Linked DNA regions of Homo sapiens: regions 1, 3, 4, 5, 6 and 7 are each linked to region 2. The links are contacts of gene promoters, found by promoter capture Hi-C in blood cells and fetal thymus (Javierre and others, 2016). All regions are on one chromosome and are shown on one strand. The core of a region is centred on a gene start or on the middle of the fragment in contact, and the rest is flanking DNA. Distances in the headings are between cores, read along the strand shown.

Region 1 (2,738 bases), core at 239-2,738, 590 kb before region 2:
TTTCTAAATCCTGACCAATAGACTATTTTTCATCTCACCTATAGACCCACATGTTAAAAAAATACCACCTAAATTATAGGTGGCTATGTGAGAGCCTGGGGATATTCACGCTAGGCAGTCTCATTCATAACACTACCATCCTCCATTTGCAGTGATGCAGGAAACAAGAAAAATGCTACATTTCGTTTTGCACCTTAAGCTTCATTAAAGAAAATCAAGCAAAACCTGCGACCATAGAAGAAATAATCTCCCAGTCTTGAAAAACTACATGAAGTGTTTTTTATCTTTGATGTGCACATGGAACCCAAAGCAGGTTCGGGAACATGGCACAGACTCACAGCCACCGTTTGGATTCTCTGCGCACCGTTTTGATTTCCTGTGCATCTATGCTAATTTCGTCTCCCCAGCCTATTGTTTAAACCCTAGCAGGACAGATGTGCTGTTTTACAGGGCCATAACCCACTTGGTGGGTGGATAACCAAGAGGCCTTTGGTCTTCATCATTTACTCCAATAAGAAAACTAGACGATTGCCTTGTAAAACAGCATGTGACCCAGGCCCGGATTTCCACGTAACGCCAACCTACAGGACCACCTCGGAACTTCCAACCAAATTAGGAAAATTCCTCCTGGTCACAGAGGTGACCAAAATTAGCTCGAGGCTGAATGAAATTATGGAAAGGACAATCTAGGGGTAAAAACAGTAAAAACAAGAGGGCTGGGAAGTGACTTACAGTACAGGAATTTAGGTTTAGGCCACACAGGTGTTCATGTGAGTAAGAGTCATCATTTCTAAGGCTGAAAAGGTTGGCCACTGCTGGTAAAAATTCTAATCCTAGTAGGCTTAGAATCTCTCTCAATCAAAAGATAAATCCCAAAAGTCATTGCTAAGGATTCCCCCCATTTTTCTTTACCTCCATCCTATGTATAACCGTAAGTTACTACCTCTCAGCCCTCATCATGAGAGCCCAGCACTCCTGTCCCGGCAGCCCTGAGTGACATCAGCATTGACTGTTGGGAATTGGTACTTGTGAAATCCAGAAATGGGCTACAATAGATGCAAATGGACCATCATCAATGTGCATTAGGATTGCCCCAGCCACCCCCAGATCTCGAAGGACCCCTGCAACCCAGTCACACCAGCATCCTTGCCAACAGGTCGAAGCAGGGTGGATTAGGATGAAGGGATATCATCGTAAGCAGCAAAAGGAAGTGATGAAAAGAACACAAATAACCAGACATTAACTTTGGGTTCTGAGCATGCTGCTTTCTGTCCGTTTAATCTATCTTTTGCTGATGCACTTAAAGAAGCTACCTTGTCTTCTTAATGTGGGGATCTCTGATGAAGGCTTGAAGCTCTGAGACCCAAGCATCAGCCCCAGCTCTGGCTTTCCCTAGTCACATGACCTTGGAAGATCACTTCTTTTTTTTTCCTTCTTTTACTACTCTGAGCCTCAGTTTCCTCATCTAAAACAGGGCTTAGGTTACTTGACACAGTCTATATAAGTATGGTAGAAGTTTTTTAAAAAATGAGTCTGTAAAATGGGACTATTCCAAGAGATTTCAGAGATGCCTTCCCATCTTAACATTCAACAGATCTATGATTCCTTTGTTACAGCTCATGTCCCTGGTATTTCTTTCTTTTTTGAGATGGAGTCCCGCTCTGTCACTCATGCTGGAGTGCAGTGGTGTGACCTTGGCTCACTGCAACCTCCACCTCCTGGGTTCAAGCAATTCTTCTGCCTCAGCCTCCCGAGTAGCTGGGAGTACAGGCGTGCACCACTATGCCCAGCTAATTTTTTTGTATTTTTATTAGAGACAGGGTTTCACCGTGTTGGCCAGGCTGGTCTTGAACTCCTGACTTCAGGTGATCCGCCCGCCCCGGCCTCCCAAAGTGCTGGGATTACAGGTGTGAGCCACTGCGCCTGGCCGTCCCTGGTCACTCTAATCGTCTTCTGTATGGGTTTACCAACAGACTCATCTCTTTGTACCCTGTACAATCCTACCTTGCATTTTCTCATAACCTTATCATGTTACCTCTCAATTATGTTACAGCAAGGAGGTAAGATTTTGCCATTAGCCTGATGGTACAATTTTTTAAAACAATAATCAGTTGCCAGAATATATTCTTGCTTTTAAAGTTCTACATAATATTTCAAAAATATATAGGGAAGTATTTAGATTTTCCTTCCACAGCTGTTTTCTGCTTGATTTCAAGAGTTAACTGAACAGTTTGCTGTCTTGTGTCCAATGTGTTTCTCCTCTCCATTAAAATGCTGAAGATTTTTATTTTTTTCCCCTCTTTAGGGGGAAAAAAGAAGTGTTTCCTCTGTAATTTACTTTGGCTTTCTCAAAAGTTGGGCGGGAAAGTCAGTATAATTCAGGTGGAATCTAAAATGTTCTTGTTGCACAAGTGTGCACAGAAAGGAAACCTATAATTTCGAGTATTCTTTCAGGAAGTTTGTATTCTCTGTTTTCCAGGGGGCCTTTACTTTCCAAGGGAGTATGATCGACATGCCATTACTGAAGCAGGCCCAGAACACTGTTACGCTTGCCACCTCCATCAAGGAAAAATGATCTGTTAAATGAAGCTGTCATCAGGTGGGCTGAACATATACAGTGGGGTTCTTAAAGACAAACCACAATACTCAAAGCAACTTGTTAGGATGCCAGATTGGGACCTGACTCCATTTACAGTTCATGTTAATCACAATTTTGTTGTTGTTGTCTCACTGGCCAG
Region 2 (2,995 bases), core at 72-2,571:
AGAAAATGCACATTTAAGTGGCCCCATGCAGTTCAAATCCATGTTGCTCAAGGCTCAACTGTACACCGAACTGAAAAATGATTCCATTTTTAGTAGGAAATGGCCTACTCTAAGTCCTACTGCTTCCCTTTGCACTTGATGGCAAGGGTCTTTAACTGTGTCAGTGGAGCTGGTTTGGCTCCACTGATAGAGACTCCCTGACCATCTGATAGGCCACTTTTGTTAGAGGAGAAGGTACCCCCTTGCCTACCTGTTCTTTTCTTACTTCATGGGTCTTGATTCCTGACTCAGGAGCACCCATTACAGAAAAGCCCTGGGACTAGATCTAATTTTATTTAATGAAAAACCTATGGAGCATTTACTCTTGCTTCTAATAAATTAACAAGTCAGGGCTTTCTTCTGAATAGGAGGGTCTCTTGACTCTTTGATATTTGACTTTTGAACCAGACTAGATGAGGCAGAGCTTCAGCACATATTTTACCAGTGTCTTCAGCAAATGCCTTTCTCTTTGCAAAGCTCCATATTACTACCAAAAATTAACCCAACTAAATTGTAATTTCTACTCACCCACATTTATTGAGTACTGTGTTTCCTTGAAAGATCTCAAACAAGGCACCTTCTTGCAAGATCTTCACCACCAGACCTTCATGATAGTCACCTCCTCATTAGGCTGAGACGCATACACAGTGATTACGTTCAGACACAGGGACTCCTGTGTCTTAAGACCTTGTGTGACCCTTGTAATTAAAGCATTACACTTTGCAAAGGCTGACAGTGGTATAGGGGCTGTCTGAAACTATTCAGCCATAGCCTGGTCTCTGCTTTCTTTTTACAAATGGGAGGTTGGCTAAGGCAGACACAGGGATGGCTAAGAGGGATAAAGGACGTGACTTCCATAGAACCTTTTGTTCCTAGAGGAACCTCTCCATGAAACACACAGTGAAACTAGATTAAACCAAAAAACGCCCTCAGCTCCAGCAGATCCTGAGCTACAAAGCACCTCTTCCCTACCGAGCCTTCTCACCCATGCGCACTGAGTTTCTGAGTATCAGAAAGTCAGGTTTCTGAATCCCTAGAGAAAGTAAAAATTTCCTTGGACACAATGGGTTTTCTTTGCTTCCTGCATGACAGTCACGAAGGGGAATCTGAAATAGAGAACTTGAATATGCGGCTTGCTGAAGGGAAGTGTACTGTACAGTAGCCCCCCTTCTCCACGGGGGATCCATGTCAAAATCCCCAGGGGATGCCTAAGACTGCGGATGGGACCGAACCCTGTATACGCTTGCCTTTAATGCCTTTTCCATTTCAGCTCGGCACTTAGCCCACACTGTGGCTGTAACTTTTGTAGTTTTAGGTACAGCAGCAAAACTAGCACAAATTTCTTTGTCCTTTTTCACAATTTCATGGATAGAAGATTGATTCTTACTGTAGATCTTAGCAATCTCAGCATACTTTTTTTTTTCTTGAGAACTTTCACCTTTTAACTAAAGGAAGGACTTCATGGCTGGTTTTTGGCATATCCAGATTGCCAGCATCATACTCTTGGAACTTTGAGGCCATTGTGAAGTCAAATAATAGTTCCTGCCAGGCACAGTGGCTCACACCTGTAATCCCAGCATTTTGGGAGTCCAAGGCAGGTGGATCACTTGAGCTCGGGAGTTTGAGACTAGCCTGGGCAACATGGCAAAACTCTGCCTCTACAAAAAACACAAAAATTCACCGGTCACGGTGGCACATACCTGTAGTCCCAGCTACTCGGCAGGCTGAGGTGGGAGCATGGCTTAAGCCCAGGAGGTGGAGGTTACAGCGAGCCAAGATCATGCCACTGCACTCCAGCCTGGGCGACAGAGCCAGCCTCTGTCTCAAAAATAAAAAAGGAACCTAAGCACTGAGACCCCCTGACAGTAGATCTGGTAACTGAGATGGCCACTAAGTGACTGGTTGGTGGTGGGGGTGTCTACAGCGTGGAGATGCTGGACCCCGAGAGAGAGGGTTTATGACCCAGGCAGGATGGAGCAGGACAGCACAAGATCTCCTCACACTACTCAGAATGACTCACAATTTAAAACTTATACATTGTTTATTTCTGGAATTTTCCATATAATGTTTCTGGACCATGGTTGACCACAGGTAAATGAAACCTTGGAAAGCTAAAACCTTGGATAAGGGGGGACTACTGTAATATAAAGTTTACAGTTCCTGGGGTGAAAGCTCAGGCAGACCCTATCTATGCATTATTACAACGTACCATCAATTCAAAACCATAAATTTGCAGAAACATCGTTGCTTTAATTCCTAAAATATTGAATATGAATAATAAAAATAATATATGCTTTGTCTTAGAAGCACCTTTTTAATATGATTGATGTGTATTGATCTGTTTCTTCATTCTAACATGAACATTTCTGTAACAGTCATTTCCCCTGAAATATCTAACCTGTGGGTACCTGAGACAGCTTGTCAGTTAGGAAGAACAGTGGTGGCGATAGCCACGTAGGGCTGGTTTGGTCGTGAGTGCAAGTGTGGTTGCAGCAGCTAGAGCAGAGGACTGTGTGGAGAACATGGGTCAGGTCAGAAGGCAGTAGCCAGGAGGGATGCAGAGTCGAGAGAGAATTTGTTGATTGGAATGACTCAGGTTGACTTTCAGGATGAAGAGAAGGGGCCAATAGAGAGGGAAGAGAGGACAGTTGATGAGGCAGGCTCCAAGAGAGGAGGGCAAAGCGAGATCAGGGGCTCCAGTGAAATGCCTGAGTGTGATGAGAAGAGCGCTGTCTTGTGAGGCTAGAGAGGGAACCAAGGATGGGTGGGCCTGGGAAGGCTGGAGAGGTAGCCTGTCAGGGAGCTGCTAACCCACTTAGAAATACTCTTATTGACATAACAAGGTTTTTTGTTTTGGTTTTTTGTTTGTTTGTTTTGAGAGAGCGTTCGCTCGTTCCCCAAGCTGAAATGCAATGGTGCAGTCTCAGCTCACTGAAACCTCCACCTCCTGGGTTCA
Region 3 (2,931 bases), core at 206-2,705, 780 kb before region 2:
TGGCCTAATACTAAATTTCAGGAAGCCTCACAGGACACATGAAACAAATCTTTACAACACATATGTGTTTTCATGCTGCTGAACATTTTGAAGACGTTTTGCCATGCTGGAGTTTGTTTGTTTTGTTTGTGTTTTTGTTTGAGGTGCCGTCTTATTCTGTCTCTCAGGCTGGAGTGCAGAGTTCAGTGGCACAATCTTGGCTCACTGCAACCTCCACCTCCCAGGTTCAAGCTATTCTTCTGCCTCAGCCTCCCGAGTAGTGCCTGGCTGCTGTTTTTTTTTTTTAATTGTTAAATTAGATGGGCTCAGTATTACCGTGCCTTGATGGAGTTTCTAGTTGAGGGATCAGTGTCATTTCTGGGTCCCCATCAGAATTACGTTCAAGCTATAAGTAGTTATGCAAAGTCGTAGGTTAAATGATTTGGGAATAAAATGTCATTTGACGTGACAGAAATGAACCCTTGGAGGCCCACATTTCCACTGGGACTTGCTCTCAGTTCCAGTTCTCATGTTAAGTAATTTTATTAACTGAGGCAAGGAGGGGCATGCGGTGACAAGGGAAATATTTTTTGCTAACATTTTAATCCTAATCACAAAATTTATTGTGTGTGGCTTTATATGCATTTGTAGCTATAAAGCCCTGGAAGATGATGAAAGTAAAAATTAGAATGTGTGGTTTTTCTGCCCAGGTGTTATTTAAAGCATTGTATGAATTGTCAAAAAGATTAATTGTTGTTGCTTGCAGCTAAACAGATGATAAATTTTAAAATTATATTATTACTGTGTGTCAGCATAAAAGCTCTGTGTCCCAAGTGTGTCACCTTTTTCTGTTGCTGTTGACAAGGTTCACATTTTATAGCACACCGCCAGAAGGTGTTGACATATATTCAGATTACTGATTAAATGTTTTTAAAACGTGCCACTCAGAAACTAACACTGATGTTCTATGAAAGAGTCATTTTTCGGAGTAAGATTTTTTTTTTCCCTTCATCATTAACATGGAGGAAATGTTAAACACTGACATTTTAAAAAATGAACCTGGGACTGGCGCAGTGGCTCATGCCTGTAATCCCAGCACCTTAGGAGGCCGAGGTGAGCGGATCACCTGAGGTCGGGAGTTCGAGACCAGCCTGACCAACATGGAGAAACCCCGTCTCTATTAAAAATACAAAATTAGCTGGGTGTGGTGGTGGGCACCTGTAATCCCAGCTACTCGAGAGGCTGAGGCAGGAGACTCCCTCGAACCCGGGAGGTGGAGGTTGTGGTAAGCTGAGATCGTGCCATTGCACTCCAGCCTGGGCAATAAGAGCGAAACTCCGGTCTCTAAATAAATAAATAAATAAAAACGTGGCTGGGCGTGGTGGCTCACGCCTGTAATCTCAGCACTTTGGGAGGCTGAGGCAGGCAGATCACGAGGTCAGGAGTTCGAGACCAACCTGGCCAATATGGCGAAACCCCATCTTTACGAAAAATACCAAAAATTAGGTGGGCATGGTGGCACGCGCCTGTAATCCCAGCTACTCAGAAGGCTGAGGCAGGAAAATTGCTTGAACCCGGGAGGCGGAGGTTGCAGTGAGCCGAGATCGCGCCACCGTACTCCAGCCTGGGTGACAGACCAAGACTCCGTCTCAAAAAAAAAAATAAAAATAGGCCAGGCGCAGTGGCTCACGCCTGTAATCCCAGCACTTTGGGAGGCCAAGGTGGGCAGATCACAAGGTCAGGAGTTCGAGACCATCCTGGCTAACAAGGTGAAACCCCGTCTCTACTAAAAATACAAAAAAATTAGCTGGGCGTGGTGGCGGGTGCCTGTAGTCCCAGCTACTCGAGGCTGAGGCAGGAGAATGGCGTGAACCACGGAGGCGGAGCTTGCAGTGAGCCGAGATTGCACCACTGCACTCCAGCCTGGGCGACAGAGCGAGACTCCATCTAAAAAAGTAAAATAAAATAAAATGAAAATAATAAATAAATAAATAAACCTAATGTTACTGCACTTTCCCATTTCAAATTGCAGCCAGCAATGAAAACAGGCATTAGCATTCCCATTTCTTCTCTTCTCCTTCACTGGAAGGGCAACAACAAACACACCCACGGTGTAAAAACAGCACCAAGGCCGGGTGCAGTGGCTCACACCTGTAATCTCAGCACTTTGGGAGGCCGAGGCATGCGGATCACCTGAGGTCGGGAGTTCGAGACTAGCCTGACCAACATGGAGAAACCCCATCTCTACTTAAAATTAGGCGAGCATGGTGGCGCGCGCCTATGATCCCAGCTACTCAGGAGGCTGAGGCAGGAGAATCACTTGAACCTGGAGGCGGAGGTTGCGGTGAGCGGAGATCGCACCATTGCACTCCAGCCTGGGCAACAAGAGAAAAACTCCATCTCAAAACAAAACAAAACAAAACAACAGCACCAAGGAAGGCGCTAAATGGCTACTTGTAAACAACCCAGGTTGGACACTGGACCCACGACAAGGAGGCAAGTTCCGTCCTGTGGTGGTGTTTGTGATGGGAAGTCTGGGGCTTTGACTCCCTCAAGTTTCCAGGCTAACACACACAACTCTTCCCAGCAGCTGAGGGGCCCCGAAGCCTTGATGTCCCTTTCACGTTGAAGGACCTCACTGGTCTTGGCTGTTTGCGTTTTGTGGATGGAGTGGGCCAGTCTTCAGAGAACTCAAATGTGTATTTGCTGCAGGGAGTGATAAGTAAACATAATGCCTCAAGAATCAACATTTGAATGCTTTTCTTTTTGGCGTTAAGGTATAATGGGACACTGGCAATATATGCTGTCTCTCTGAACACAGCATGAAAGAACTTGAAAACAAATGATTTAGTATTCATTACGGAAAAGTTGGATTTTTTTCCCTCTCTGATTGTCAAGATTTCTTCGTCGATGTCAGTTTTCCAGTGTGAATTTTTCCTCTCCACTCAGAGG
Region 4 (3,053 bases), core at 539-3,038, 860 kb before region 2:
GTTACTAACTCTGCTATAGGCAGGAAGCTCCTGGATAGATACTCTGGGGTTCAAGTCCAATGCTGACCCGCAGTTGGCCCTTGACCTTGTTCAAGGCCCTTATCTAGATTGTGCCTTATTTTTCTCACCCATCAAAAGGAGGATGGACAAGTTTCTTCCTGCCAGTTGACATTCCAGAGTCTAGAAAGGAATTATTGCCCTCAAGTAAGACGACCTTGGGGAATTCAGAAATAAAAAGTATATAGCTTTTTGAGCTCTAAGTTATTTTGGTCCATTTGAGCTCAATTTGACCAGAGATTGAAGATAAAAGCTCTGCCTCCCCCAAACTTATTGGTACAGCCTGCACTCAATTGGTTTTACCGCCTTCTCCTGACATTAAGGGAGATGTTTTTGGTTGTGTGGTGTTGACCCTTTAGGTCCTCAGAAGGGGCGGCACCCTCATGGTGTCTCTGCCTGCAGCAGGGAGTGCTACCAGGCACTTTGTTCCAGTGACTTATGATGGACACAGCACAGCGCCTAGGGGTTAGGATTCTAAAATAATTCAGGTGTATGGAGACGCAGAACCTAAAAGAACTCAGGAGAAAGAGAAGGTAGATATCCTAAATTTTAGTCTGATTTTGACTCAGAAGTGGATACCTGATTTTGGCCTACATTTCACCTCTTTCAGTTTTTTTCTGCTCCATTTGGGTTCCCTGCTCACTTGGAACCCTCAAGCTGGCTTGCAAATGCCCAGAGCCACAGTGCTCTCATAGGGTCTGCCTGTTCTAGGGCCCATCAGCCAGCAGTCCAGCAGGGATGACCAGTGAGCCCAAGAAAACAAGCAGTGCTGATGTCAGATGTGTAGCCCTTCTCAAGTGCTATACATTTTAAGAAATGCCTTCACTGGGCATGGTGGCTCATGCCTGTAATCCCAGCACTTTGGGAGGCCAAGATGGGCGGATCACGAGGTCAGGAGTTGGAGACCAACCTGGCACAACATGATAAAACCCTGTCTCTACTAAAAATACAAAAATTAGCTGAACGTGGTGGTCACACACCTCTAATCTCAGCTACTCAGGAGGCTGAGGCAGGAGAATCGCTTAAACCCGGAAGGTGGAGGTTGCAGTGAGCTGAGATCCTGCCATTGCACTCCAGCCTGGGTGACAGTGAGACTCTGTCTCAAAAAAAGAAAGAAAGAAAAAGAGAGAGAGAGAAAGAGAGAGAGAGAGAGAAAGAAAGAAAGAAAAAGAAAGAAAGAAAAAAGAAAGAAAATGTCTTCTTCAGACACCTCAACTACAAAGGAGTCAGCCAGTCAAGAGAATTTCTCCTCTACCAGGAAGAGAATATGGGTATAGGAGAAGCTTGGAGTCTCTCTGCCACCCCTCATGTTCTCTGGACAAAGTCCCAAGCTGTGCGTTTGAATCATCAGTGTCTACTTGTCCTGCAGAACATCAGGAATTTACCAGGTAATCTGGTGACATGCCTGCACCAGAGGACTGGGAGAATCCTTACCGTTAAACCTCTTCTCCCCACCCCTGAACACATAAATACACTTTTTAAGCTTCCTAACGCTGTACTCTGATCATGGTGCCCACCCCCTTGGACAGCATAAATTTCCCAGTGACCTCCAATTACCTGCCGCTAAAGTCCAGGCCCCTTAGTGTGGCATGTACGCACCTCCTCACCTATCCTCCATCTTTCCATTTCCCCCCAGGCCGCTTACCTGTGGCCCACATGCACCACTCACCATGCCCCACACTCTCGAGTCATCAGTGCCACTTCCTCCTGGAAGCCTTCTTTCCCTGGACACCTCAGCCAGCCATCTGTCTCGTCCCTGAGAGCCCTAACCTCTCCGCTGACTTTTGTCACCCTTCCCTGTGTTAAGGTGATCGAGATGCAGAACTCCCAGTGGTCTTTGATGCCTCCTCTCCTCTCCCACCCACACCCCATCTGTTGCCAGGCCTGTTGATTTTCCCCTTCAGGTGCCAACTCTTCTTTCATTGTATTAGTTTCCTATTGCTGTTGTAACAGATTATCGCAAACATGGTGGTTTAAATTAAGCTTGTCCCTGCAGCCTGTGGGCCACATGTGACCTGGGATGACTTTGAATACGACCCAACACAAATTTGTGAGCTTTCTTAAAACATGAGATTTTTTGGCGATTTTTTTTTTTTTCCCTTTAGCTTATCAGCTGTTGTTAGTGGATTTTATGTGTGGTCCAAGACAATTCTTCTTCCAGTGTGGGGCCAGGGAAGCCAAAAAAACTGGACACCCTTGGTTAAGTTAACACAGATTTGTTAACTTATGCTTCTGCAGTTTGGAAGTCTGACCTAGGTTTTGTGGGCTGAAACCAAGGTGTTTACAGGGATGGAGAGTGTTCTTTCTGGCAGTTCTAGGGGTGATCTGTTTGCTTGCCTGTTTCAGCTTCTAGAGGCTGCCCACATTCTTTGGCTCATGGCTCCTTATCCATCTTCAAAGCCAGACCCAGTGGGCTGAATTCTTCTCCCCATTGCTGCCATCTCTCGGGTTCTGTTGCTTCTGCCACCCTTTTCCACTTAGAAGCACCCTTGTGATTACGTTGGCCCCACCTGGATAACCAGGGCCAGTCGCCCCAACTCAGGGTCAGCTGATTAGCAACCTTCATTCCACTTTGCCATGTAACCTGACATATCAATAAATACTGGGTATAAGGACGTGGACATCTTTGGGGGCCATTATTCTGCATACCCATCCACTGTTATAGATTCAGGTTTGAACTCTTGGAATGACCATCTAATGGGCTGAGTTCCCTCATTGCCTCTCATGTTATGTGCTGCCAGCATAGATATTAAGATGTACATTCTATCATCTAGACCTGTTGGTTCCAAAAACATCTCTTGGATCTGTCCTTTTCTTTTTGTCTCCATTGCCCCTACCCTAGTGGCAAACAATCCTGTGAAAAAGGATTGTTTACATGTATGGGTGCCCCTCCAGGCAATATTCAAGTGTACTCTTCGAGGCTGTTTTAGTACATTCACCATATTGTGCAACCATCACCTCCATCTAGTTCCAAAACATTTTCATCGCCCTAAAGG
Region 5 (2,992 bases), core at 427-2,926, 800 kb before region 2:
AGATGTTGCTGCCACTGGGTCAGATAATTAGGAAACCAAGAATCGACTATTGAAAGCTGGATGCAATGGTGCTTGTCTATAATTCCAGCCACTCAGGAGACTGAGATGCAAGGATGGCATGAGCCCAGGAGTTCGAGGCTGCAGAGAACAATGATCGCTCCTGTGAATAGCTGCTGCATTCCAGTCTGGGCAACATAGCCAGACCAGACCCTGTCTCTTAAAAAAACAAAAATTGGGCTATTGGATTTAGCCACGTGGGGGTCATGGGTGACCTTGACAAGAGCAGATTTGGTAGAAGCATGGAATGGATTTTTCCTAATATTCCTCCTCTTCAGGGGCAGACAATATTTAAATGAAACCGTATTTGGAGCACTCATCAGGCTTTAATATTGATGCTGCATCTTCTACTGTCACATACATAAAGGGGACCAGGACCACTGCATTACAGATGTGACTATTTCTACCTTATATATGTATGCCCTATATGTGTATATACTTTATGTGTCTATATCAGCTTTATTGAGATATAATTTACATCTCATACAGTTCACCTATTTAAAGTATACAGTTCAATGAATTTAATGGTTTTTAGTCTATTCAGTGTTATGCAACCATCACCATGATTAATTTTATTTCTATCACTGTTTCTTCAGCCCCAAAAGAAACCCTGTTCCCATTAGCAGTCACTCCTCCTTTTCCCCCAAAACCCTCAGTCCTAGGCAACCACTAGTCTACTTTCTGTCTTTCTATATTTGCCGATTCTGGACTCTTCATATACATGGAATCATACGATACGTGGTCTTTTGTGACTGGCTTCTTTCACTTAGTATAATGTTTTCAAGCTTCATCCAAGCTGTAGCATGTGGCAGTACTTCATTCCTTTTTAGGGCCAAATAATATTCCACTGTATGTACTAATATATACCACATTTTATTTATTCATTGATTAGTTGTTGGAAATTTAGGTTGTTTCTACTTTTTAGCTATTATGAATAATGCTGCTATGAACATTTCTGTACACATTGTTGTATGGGTATATTTCTTCTGGGGTTATACTTAGGAATGGAATTAGAATGCAGTAGCATGATCTCAGCTCACTGCAACCTCCACCTCCCGGGTTCAAGTTGTTCTTGTGCCTCAGCCCCCCAAGTAGCTGGGATCACAGGCACTGTGCCTCCACGCCTGGCTAATTTTTTGTATTTTTAGTAGAGATAGAGTTTCATTATGTTGGCCATGCTGGTCTCGAACTCCTACCCTCAGGTGATCTGCCCGCCTCGGCCTCCCATGGTGCTGGGATTACAGGCGTGAGCCACCACCCCTGGCCACAGACTGGCTTCCTTCCTTCCCTCCGTCCGTCCTTCCTTCCTTCCTTCCTTCCTTCCTTCCTTCCTTCCTTCCTTCCTTCCTTTCCTCCCTTTCTTTTTCTTTTTCTATTTCTCTTTCTCTCTCTCTTTCTTCCCTCCTCTCCCCTCCCCTCCTGTCCTCTTCTCTCTTTCTGACAGAGTTTCACTCTTGTCACCCAGGCTGGAGTGCAATGGCGCAATCTCGGCTCACTGCAGCCTCCACCTCATTTGTTCTCATGTCTTAGCCACTCGAGTAGCTGGGATTACAGGCACCTGCCACCAGGCCTGGCTAATTGTTTTTTTAGTAGAGACAGGATTTCGCCATGTTGGCCAGGCTGGTCTCAAACTCCTGACCTCAAGTCACCTCAGCCTCCCAAAGTGCTGGGATTACAGGCATGAGCCACCACACCCAGCCTTCTTCATTCTTTTTTTTTTTGAGGTGGAGTTTTGCTCTTGTTGCCCAGGCTGGAGTGCAATGGCACAATCTCGACTTACTGCAACCTGCACCTCCCAGGTTCAAGCGATTCTCCTGCCTCAGCCTCCCGAGTAGCTGGCATTACAGGCATGCCCCACCACTGGGTGAAAAATGCCCAGCTAATTTTGTATTTTTAGTAGAGATGGGGTTTCTCCATGTTGGTCAGGCTGGTCTCGAACTCTCGACCTCAGGTGATCTGCCCACCTCAGCCTCCCAGAGTGCTGGGATTACAGGCATGAGCCACTGCGCTCGGCCCATCATTCTTAATAATATTCCCAAATGGTGTATAGATAAATACTGCCACAATTTCAGGACTAGAGGTTAAAAAAAAAAAAAGGACAAAGTTGGACAGTAGAGCTGAGAGCACAAATTGTCCCCTTTTTTTCCCAGGTCCTTAGGTTCGTAGACCTGTGTCAGCCATAATTACTGCTGAATGTGACTCCTGTGTATACGGTCATTTTTATTTTTTCTGTTCCTGGAGGTAATGCAATAAGTCACCTCAAAAAGGGCAGAGAATGAGGGAGAGAATCTACCTGCATTGGCGTATTGAAAAGATCAGATTATTTCAGAATCCAGATCATTGTTTACTTTTAGCTGCATAAAAATATCCAAGTAGATTTTCTTATAACCTCTCCAAGATAAAGATGCCAGAAACGGCAGCCAAATACATTGACTTTGAGAGAGGAAAAAAAAAAAGCTTGTAATTGCCGATCACTCCTTAGATTTACTTCTGGGGAGCATCAATTAAAAATCTCAAAACACGTGGCTTTTTCAGTAAAATTATATTAATATGGAGGAAGAGTTTTTATTAAATATGAGTGCACGTGTGTCTGTGTCTGTGTGTGTTTTAAACGTTTCCATAATGAGTTCCCAAGTGCTTTTTTGGCAGTAGTTATTAAAGCTTGTGTGTTTGCGATTTATCTGGCAAAATGCCTTTAGTGAAGAAAGGATATAGTGTTCTCTTGGTTCTTTGCCCAAAGTAATTTTGGAGAAATCTGTGACTGTATTTAGTTCATGTCATTCATTGGAGACAAGTCATTGTAATTACATTTGATCACAATCAGTTTACAGTTGTTTTATCATGTTTTCATGCTGAATATCTACTCAGACATCATAGCAAAATTTAATGGCTACTGTTTTATTTGTACATAAAAAGATTTATAGCCCTTTTTTGC
Region 6 (2,834 bases), core at 17-2,516, 570 kb before region 2:
TATTCTGTCCACCCTCCCCCACCTCCATTCTGTTCCAATTATTCTTCATTATCCTTCAAAGCAAACTTGCAAGTCAGCCAAGAACCGAGCTCCAGGTGTGAGACCAAAAAAAGAAAGAAAAGGGGGAAGAAATCTAAAAGTACCTTAGATGGAAATTTTCATGCAGCCATAAAAAAGTGTTTTTTGGTTGTTGTTTTTGCTTTTTTTTTTTTAGATCAAACATGTTTTGTTGTTGTTGTGGTGGTGGTTGTGGTTGTTTTTGAGACAGGGTCTCTGTCTGTCGCCCAGACTGGAGTACAGCTGCACGATCTCGGCTCACTGCAGCCTCGACCTCCCCTGCTCAAGCCATCCTCCCACCTCAGCCAGGACCCCACCCAAGTAGCAGGAACTACAGGCCTGTGCCACCACTCCCAGATGATTTTTGTATTTTTTGTAGAAACGGGGTCTCACCATGTTGCCCAGTCTGTTCTTGAACTCCTGGGCTCAAGTGATCCACCTGCCTCAGCCTCCCAAAGTGCTAGGATTACAGGCATGAGCCATGACACTCTGCCAGATTCAACATGTTTAATGGCAAAAGGGAAAATGCTGAGAAGTTTGCCTCCATTTGGTTATTTCACTTTGTTCCTTTTATACTTTCCTGTACATTCCAAATGGACTACAATGAGCACCTGTCACTGTGATCATCAAGAAATAAAATAAACAATAAAATAAGTAAATGTCACTACAGGGGATTTTGGAGTTTCCCTATTTTCTAAAATGGACATTTAAAAGTTTTCAAATCAGAAAAATGTCTGTTAAGATTTCATTTTATTGTTGTTTTACATAAGAATAATCAGATATGAGGAAAATAAGTGTGAGTGAAAATCAGAATTTGAATGGGAACTGAAGGACCCCCAGAGCTTTTTTGAGTTTTCTTTTTTTTTTCTTTTTTGAGACAAAGTCTTGCTCGGTCACCCAGTGGCGCGATCTCGGCTCAATACCACCTCCGCCTCCCGGGTTCAAGCAATTCTCCTGTCTCAGCCTCCTGAGTAGCTGGGATTACAGGTGCCTGCCACCACACCCAGCTAATTTTTGTATTTTTAGTAGAAATGGGGTTTCTCCATGTTGGCCAGGCTGGTCTCGAGCTCCTGACCTCAGGTGATCCACCCTCCTCAGCCTCCCAAAGTGCTGGGCTTACAGGCGTGAGCCACCGTGCCCGGCCTTGAGTTCTTATTATTACAAGATGACTCAGATTTGGGCTGGAGAGCATTTTAAAACATTAAAACATCTTCTGCCTAACAAATGCATTAATCCTTTCTTGAGGATTAAGAAAGAATTAATCCCTCCAAGGATGGGCAGCCCCACAGCGGGTGGCTTGGAAAATACTTGGCTTCGTGCATCTGCAGACTTACTGTTTTCTTTGACCCTTTGCGTCTACATCTGGGAATTTATCCTAAAGAAATTCTGTAATCCAGAATATCAAAAAAGCCTCATTGGCAAATACTACTTTATTCACAGTTGCATCATGTAAATTACAGAGGTATGGCTAAGTCAATCGGGAGACATTTACTTGATGGAATATTAGACAGCCACTAAAACTGGTGCTTCTGAAGGTGATAAGAAAGTGCTTTTCCTATAAAGTCAAGTTCTGATGCATACCAAGCTGCAAATGCGAGTCTGGAGCTGAACTGCCTGGCTCTCCTGCTTCTTAGGCTTCTTAGCTAAGTAACCTTGAGCAAGATCCTAACATCCCTGTGCCTCAGTCTTATTATCTGTGAAATGGGGGTAATAATACTACCTACCTCCTAAGGTTTCTTTTGAGCCTGAAATGAGTTAATACATACAAAGCACAGTGGCCTGGCACACTGTAGGCACTGGACAAGTGTTGGTTCCTATAATTATTATCTGTGATTATAACCATGTTAAAAAGAAATCACAACACTGGAAAAAAAAAACAATAAAATGTTAGCAATTGTAGTGTTTGGGTGATAAGACTACTGGTGATTTTTATTTTTTCTTCTTTTTACATTTTTGTATTTCCAAATTTTTCACTAACTATACATCAATTTTTTTTAATTGGGCATGATGGGTCACACCTGTAATCCCAGAGACTCAGGAGGCTGAACCAGGAGGATTGCCTGAGGCCAAGAGTTCAAAACCAGCCTGGCAACGTAGCATGACCCCTCTATCTCTAAAAAATAAATAAATAAAGCTGGGCATGGTAGTGCTTGCTTGTAGTCCCAGCTACTCAGGAGACTGAGGTGGGAGGATCAGTTTGAGCTCAGGAGTTTGAGGCCAGCCTGGCCAGCATAGCAAGACTCCATCTCAAAAACAATTAAAAAGACCCTGAATAGAGAGCCGCAGCACGTGGTTTCATATGATTTGAAACATCCAGGTGCCAAGACTTTGGGCATGGGCTTGCGAGGGACTCCTCCTGACTGCACCCCATGGGCACCTCTCATCCCGGGGAGGACGGTCAGGCTGTGCTGAGTGGTGAACAGCACTCGGATTGGCAAAAAAGTAACCTGAGCTCCAGTCACCTGTTCCCTGCAGGTTCTTGGAAAGAGCTTTTTCCTTCTCTACAAGGAGGAATCTGATGCAACTGACATCCTCAATAGCTACAGAGAACTTGCAAAGGAGTAGAGAGAATGTTTGAGGTCCAGCCTTGGTGTAGAGAAGCGGCAGAAACAGAAATCCCAAAAGGTGTCATGCTTGGCTCCAGCTCTGTGCTCTCAGAACTCCCTTCCCTCTGGGCAGAGGCCCATCTGCTCTGTTTACACACCTGGACCTGGTGTGAAGGGAGGTTTGGAGGAGGGTAGCTCCCTGACCATTTGTGGAATCGTTCCTGCTTCCAA
Region 7 (3,089 bases), core at 463-2,962, 830 kb before region 2:
CAAATGGCAGGATCTCATTCTCTTTTATGACTGAATAGTACTTCATTGTGTATATGTACCACAATTTCTTGATCCATTTAGCTACCGATGGCCCCTTAGGTTGCTCCCAAATCTTTGCTATTGTGAATACTGCTGCAATAAACATGGGAGTGCAGATATCTCTTCAATACACTGCCTTCCTTTCTTTTGGGTATATACCTAGCATTGGGATTGCTGGGTCATATGGTAGTTCTAGTTTTAGTTTTTTGAGGAACCTCTATGCTGTTCTCCATAGCGGTTGTACTAAATTACATTCCCATTAACAGTGTACGATGGTTTCCTTTTTTCCATATCCTCGCTAGCATTTGTTATTGCCTATCTTTTAGATAAAAGTCATTTTAGGCCGGGTGCAGTGGCTCACGCCTGTAATCCCAGCACTTTGGGAGGCTGATGCGGGTGGATCACGAGGTCAGGAGATCGAGACCATCCTGGCCAACATGGTGAAACCCCGTCTCTACTAAAAAAATACAAAAACTTAGCTGGGCGTGGTGGCGGGTGCCTGTAGTCCCAGCTACTTGGGAGGCTGAGGCAGGAGAATGGTGTGAACACAGGAGGCAGAGCTTGCAGTGAGCTGAGATTGCACCACTGCACTCCAGCCTGGGCGACAGAGCAAGACTCTGTCTCAAAAAAAAAAAAAAAAAAAGTCATTTTAATGGGGTGTGATATCTTACCGTAGTTTTGATTTGCATTTCTGTGGTGATCAGTGATGTTGAGCACCTTTTCATATGCCTGTTTGCCATTTGTATGTCTTCTTCTGAGAAATATCTGTTCAGATCTTTTGCCCAGTTTTTAAATTAGATTATTAAATTTTTTTTTTCCTATTGAGTTGTTTGAGCTTCTTATATATCCTGGTTATTAATCCTTTCTCAGATGGATGGTTTGCAAATATTTTTCCCCATTCTGTGGGCTGTCTCTTCACTTTGTTGATTGTTTTCCTTTGCTGTGCAGAAGCTTTTTAACTTGACATGATTCCATTTGTCTATTTTTGCTTCGGTCGCCTGTGCTTTTGGGGCCTTAGGGCAATTTCTGATCCAGGGAGAGGGCTTTCTTTAAGGGGTGTGGGGCATGAATAAGCCACCAGCAATGTCAGGGTATCTTCTTTCCTGTGGCTGAGAAATTCCCTAATTTAAACTTAGGATTCTGTTTGCCATGAACATGCTATTAAAATAGTGGCACCCTGGGACACTGTGGGGTTCAGTGGGCTTTTGTGAGCTATCCTGAGGTCCTAACCATCATTTGTGACATTTTTTCCATGGGGAAAAATTCATTTTCAGTTCCAAAGAAGCAACTTATTGGTGAATTATTTTGAGCAGGATCCTGTCATAATCAGGCACTGCTTTTATATTTTTTCTGTATTCAGTAGTAAATCTACTTGTACCTTAAGCAGTCATCGCACTCCTTTAGCCCCTTTTAATTTCTAATGAGGAGTGGTGTGTTATAGGAGTTTGGGGTGGCCTGGGGGAAGAAGGGTTGCTGAAGGATGGAGCTCCTGAAAGGGAGGGTTAATGAGGATGTGTGTCCAAAGGGTGAATGTCTGTGCTCCTCACCAGGGAGAAGGGCATCTTGCATTTACAATGATTTATAATTCACCTGGGTCAGGTTCCTCTGACTATAGGAGCCAATTGGTTACAGAAATCTTTTTTTTTTTTTTTTTTTTTGAGATGGAGTCTCACTCTGGCACCCCGGCTGGAGTGCAGTGGCGTGATCTCGGCTCACTGCAACCTCTGCCTCTTGGGTTCAAGCAATTCTCTGCCTCAGCCTCCTGAATAGCTGGGATTGCAGGTGCCCGCTACCACACCTGGCTAATTTTTTTTTTTTTTTTTTGTATTTTTAGTAGAGACAGGGTTTCACCATCTTGGCCAGGTTGGTATTAAACTCCTGACCTCGTGATCCACCCACCTTGGCCTCCCAAAGTGCTGGGACTACAGGCGTGAGCCACCACGCCTGGCTGGTTACAGAAATCTTAATATAAGGAGCTCGTTACAAAGGCAAGCATACCCTAGATCTGCCTGCTAGCCCTGCGATAGCTACTTCTCAGTACCTTCTGTGCCAGACACTCTTCTAGGCCCAGGGATACAGCAGGGAGAGAGGTGGGCAGGGCCCCTTCCCCTCTGGAGAGGCTGCTGCTGGGCCCTCCGCACGCTCTGGCCTCCCATGCTTTGGGAATGCTTGTCACTGCCAAGCTGTGCAGTGCATCACCATCCATGGTGCTCATGGGCCTGAGGACCACTCTGCCCACACCTAAGGGGGGCTGGGTGGCCAGTGTTTGAAAGGCTTATAAGAAAGATCACAAGAAGTTTCTTCTTGAGAAATGCTACAGTCTTTAAAAACAAAACAAACAAAAAACTACTTAGAATTTTGATAGCCCCAGCTCAAGAAAACAATAGGTAGGACACAAGCTTGTTCATAGGCAGCAGAGAGGTCCAAAGCAATGTGCCTCAAATCAAGACGTGTGGCTCTGAAAAACCTTCTTAGGGAAGGCTCCCGCCCCACCTAGAGCTTCCCAATTCCATAGTATCTAAGGCCTTGCAAAATCTACATCTGTCACACGCCCCCCCGGCCCCGCCCCCCATCACAACTCCATAGTGGGAAGAACTTATTTCAGTGCCTATTTTTCTTGAGGTTTATAAAAACAAAATGTGTGAAGGGAATGTATGCTGATTCTCTTGGGACTAATTAAACAAACAGATTCAGAGAAAGAAAGCAGAGAAGATTTAGGACAGTTAAAATGTAAAAAATGTAATTTTGGGGATAACAGCCGTCAATTTTTCCACTCGAGTGTTTTTCCAAAGGGCAGAGGGCAAGAAGCATCTTAAGTCCTCTCGAAGCTGAGACACATTTCAACTGGAGATATTAGAAGCAAATTTGGTGCCCAAGACAGGTGCCAGATTTTAATTACAGTTGGCATTTCTGAGCATGCTTTTGGCAGAGGTGGCCATCTTGTTGGAAAAGCCATAGATTTTGACACTAGCAGTATGGGTGCCCAGTTGAGAACGATTGCAAATAATTTCCCTCCTATTTTCATCTTGTTGGTTGTGAGAGAAAACTTC

Evidence for each region. Contacts are between HindIII fragments. The CHiCAGO score rates a contact against its expected background, and 5 or more counts as called.
Region 1: a fragment that was not itself captured here is called in contact with the fragment with the promoter of PCCA-AS1 in region 2 in 8 of 17 cell types (activated CD4 T cells, erythroblasts, fetal thymus and 5 more); the score reaches 8.6 in activated CD4 T cells.
Region 3: a fragment that was not itself captured here is called in contact with the fragment with the promoter of PCCA-AS1 in region 2 in 1 of 17 cell types (non-activated CD4 T cells); the score reaches 5.8 in non-activated CD4 T cells.
Region 4: a contact is called between a fragment that was not itself captured here and the fragment with the promoter of PCCA-AS1 in region 2, in 2 of 17 cell types (naive CD8 T cells and non-activated CD4 T cells). The highest score is 7.3, in naive CD8 T cells.
Region 5: a contact is called between a fragment that was not itself captured here and the fragment with the promoter of PCCA-AS1 in region 2, in 4 of 17 cell types (total CD4 T cells, non-activated CD4 T cells, fetal thymus and 1 more). The highest score is 7.2, in total CD4 T cells.
Region 6: a contact is called between a fragment that was not itself captured here and the fragment with the promoter of PCCA-AS1 in region 2, in 1 of 17 cell types (monocytes). The highest score is 5.3, in monocytes.
Region 7: a fragment that was not itself captured here is called in contact with the fragment with the promoter of PCCA-AS1 in region 2 in 5 of 17 cell types (activated CD4 T cells, fetal thymus, erythroblasts and 2 more); the score reaches 6.5 in activated CD4 T cells.

The regions. Positions count from the first base shown.
Region 1 is chr13:99,888,839-99,891,576 of GRCh38, forward strand. It overlaps CLYBL (citramalyl-CoA lyase), which reads left to right. Exons shown (of 9, transcript NM_206808.5): 8 at 2,480-2,599. The coding sequence ends at 2,575. The region is part of intron 1 of CLYBL-AS3 (CLYBL antisense RNA 3); the gene reads right to left. Among named protein-coding and RNA genes, the nearest start is that of CLYBL-AS3, 67 kb to the right of the region's middle. The HindIII fragment of the contact is 2,582 bases long and covers 198-2,738 here.
Region 2 is chr13:100,479,694-100,482,688 of GRCh38, forward strand. PCCA-AS1 (PCCA antisense RNA 1) reads right to left here and starts at 1,322. Exons shown (of 5, transcript NR_047686.1): 1 at 1,287-1,322. All of the region lies in intron 21 of PCCA (propionyl-CoA carboxylase subunit alpha), which reads left to right. It overlaps LOC107984574 (a long non-coding RNA gene), which reads right to left and starts at 1,514. Exons shown (of 3, transcript XR_007063850.1): 1 at 1,427-1,514; 2 at 568-737; 3 at 1-70. The HindIII fragment of the contact is 6,979 bases long and covers 1-2,995 here.
Region 3 is chr13:99,698,063-99,700,993 of GRCh38, forward strand. The region is part of intron 1 of CLYBL (citramalyl-CoA lyase); the gene reads left to right. Among named protein-coding and RNA genes, the nearest start is that of CLYBL-AS2, 8.6 kb to the left of the region's middle. The HindIII fragment of the contact is 8,716 bases long and covers 1-2,931 here.
Region 4 is chr13:99,619,615-99,622,667 of GRCh38, forward strand. The region is part of intron 1 of CLYBL (citramalyl-CoA lyase); the gene reads left to right. Among named protein-coding and RNA genes, the nearest start is that of CLYBL, 14 kb to the left of the region's middle. The HindIII fragment of the contact is 500 bases long and covers 1,539-2,038 here.
Region 5 is chr13:99,674,833-99,677,824 of GRCh38, forward strand. The region is part of intron 1 of CLYBL (citramalyl-CoA lyase); the gene reads left to right. LOC124903199 (a long non-coding RNA gene) reads left to right here. Exons shown (of 2, transcript XR_007063848.1): 1 at 1-2,992. Among named protein-coding and RNA genes, the nearest start is that of CLYBL-AS2, 15 kb to the right of the region's middle. The HindIII fragment of the contact is 1,672 bases long and covers 841-2,512 here.
Region 6 is chr13:99,905,523-99,908,356 of GRCh38, forward strand. The region is part of intron 1 of CLYBL-AS3 (CLYBL antisense RNA 3); the gene reads right to left. It also overlaps a transcript of CLYBL not described here. Among named protein-coding and RNA genes, the nearest start is that of CLYBL-AS3, 50 kb to the right of the region's middle. The HindIII fragment of the contact is 3,286 bases long and covers 1-2,834 here.
Region 7 is chr13:99,644,835-99,647,923 of GRCh38, forward strand. The region is part of intron 1 of CLYBL (citramalyl-CoA lyase); the gene reads left to right. Among named protein-coding and RNA genes, the nearest start is that of MIR4306, 3.3 kb to the left of the region's middle. The HindIII fragment of the contact is 1,448 bases long and covers 989-2,436 here.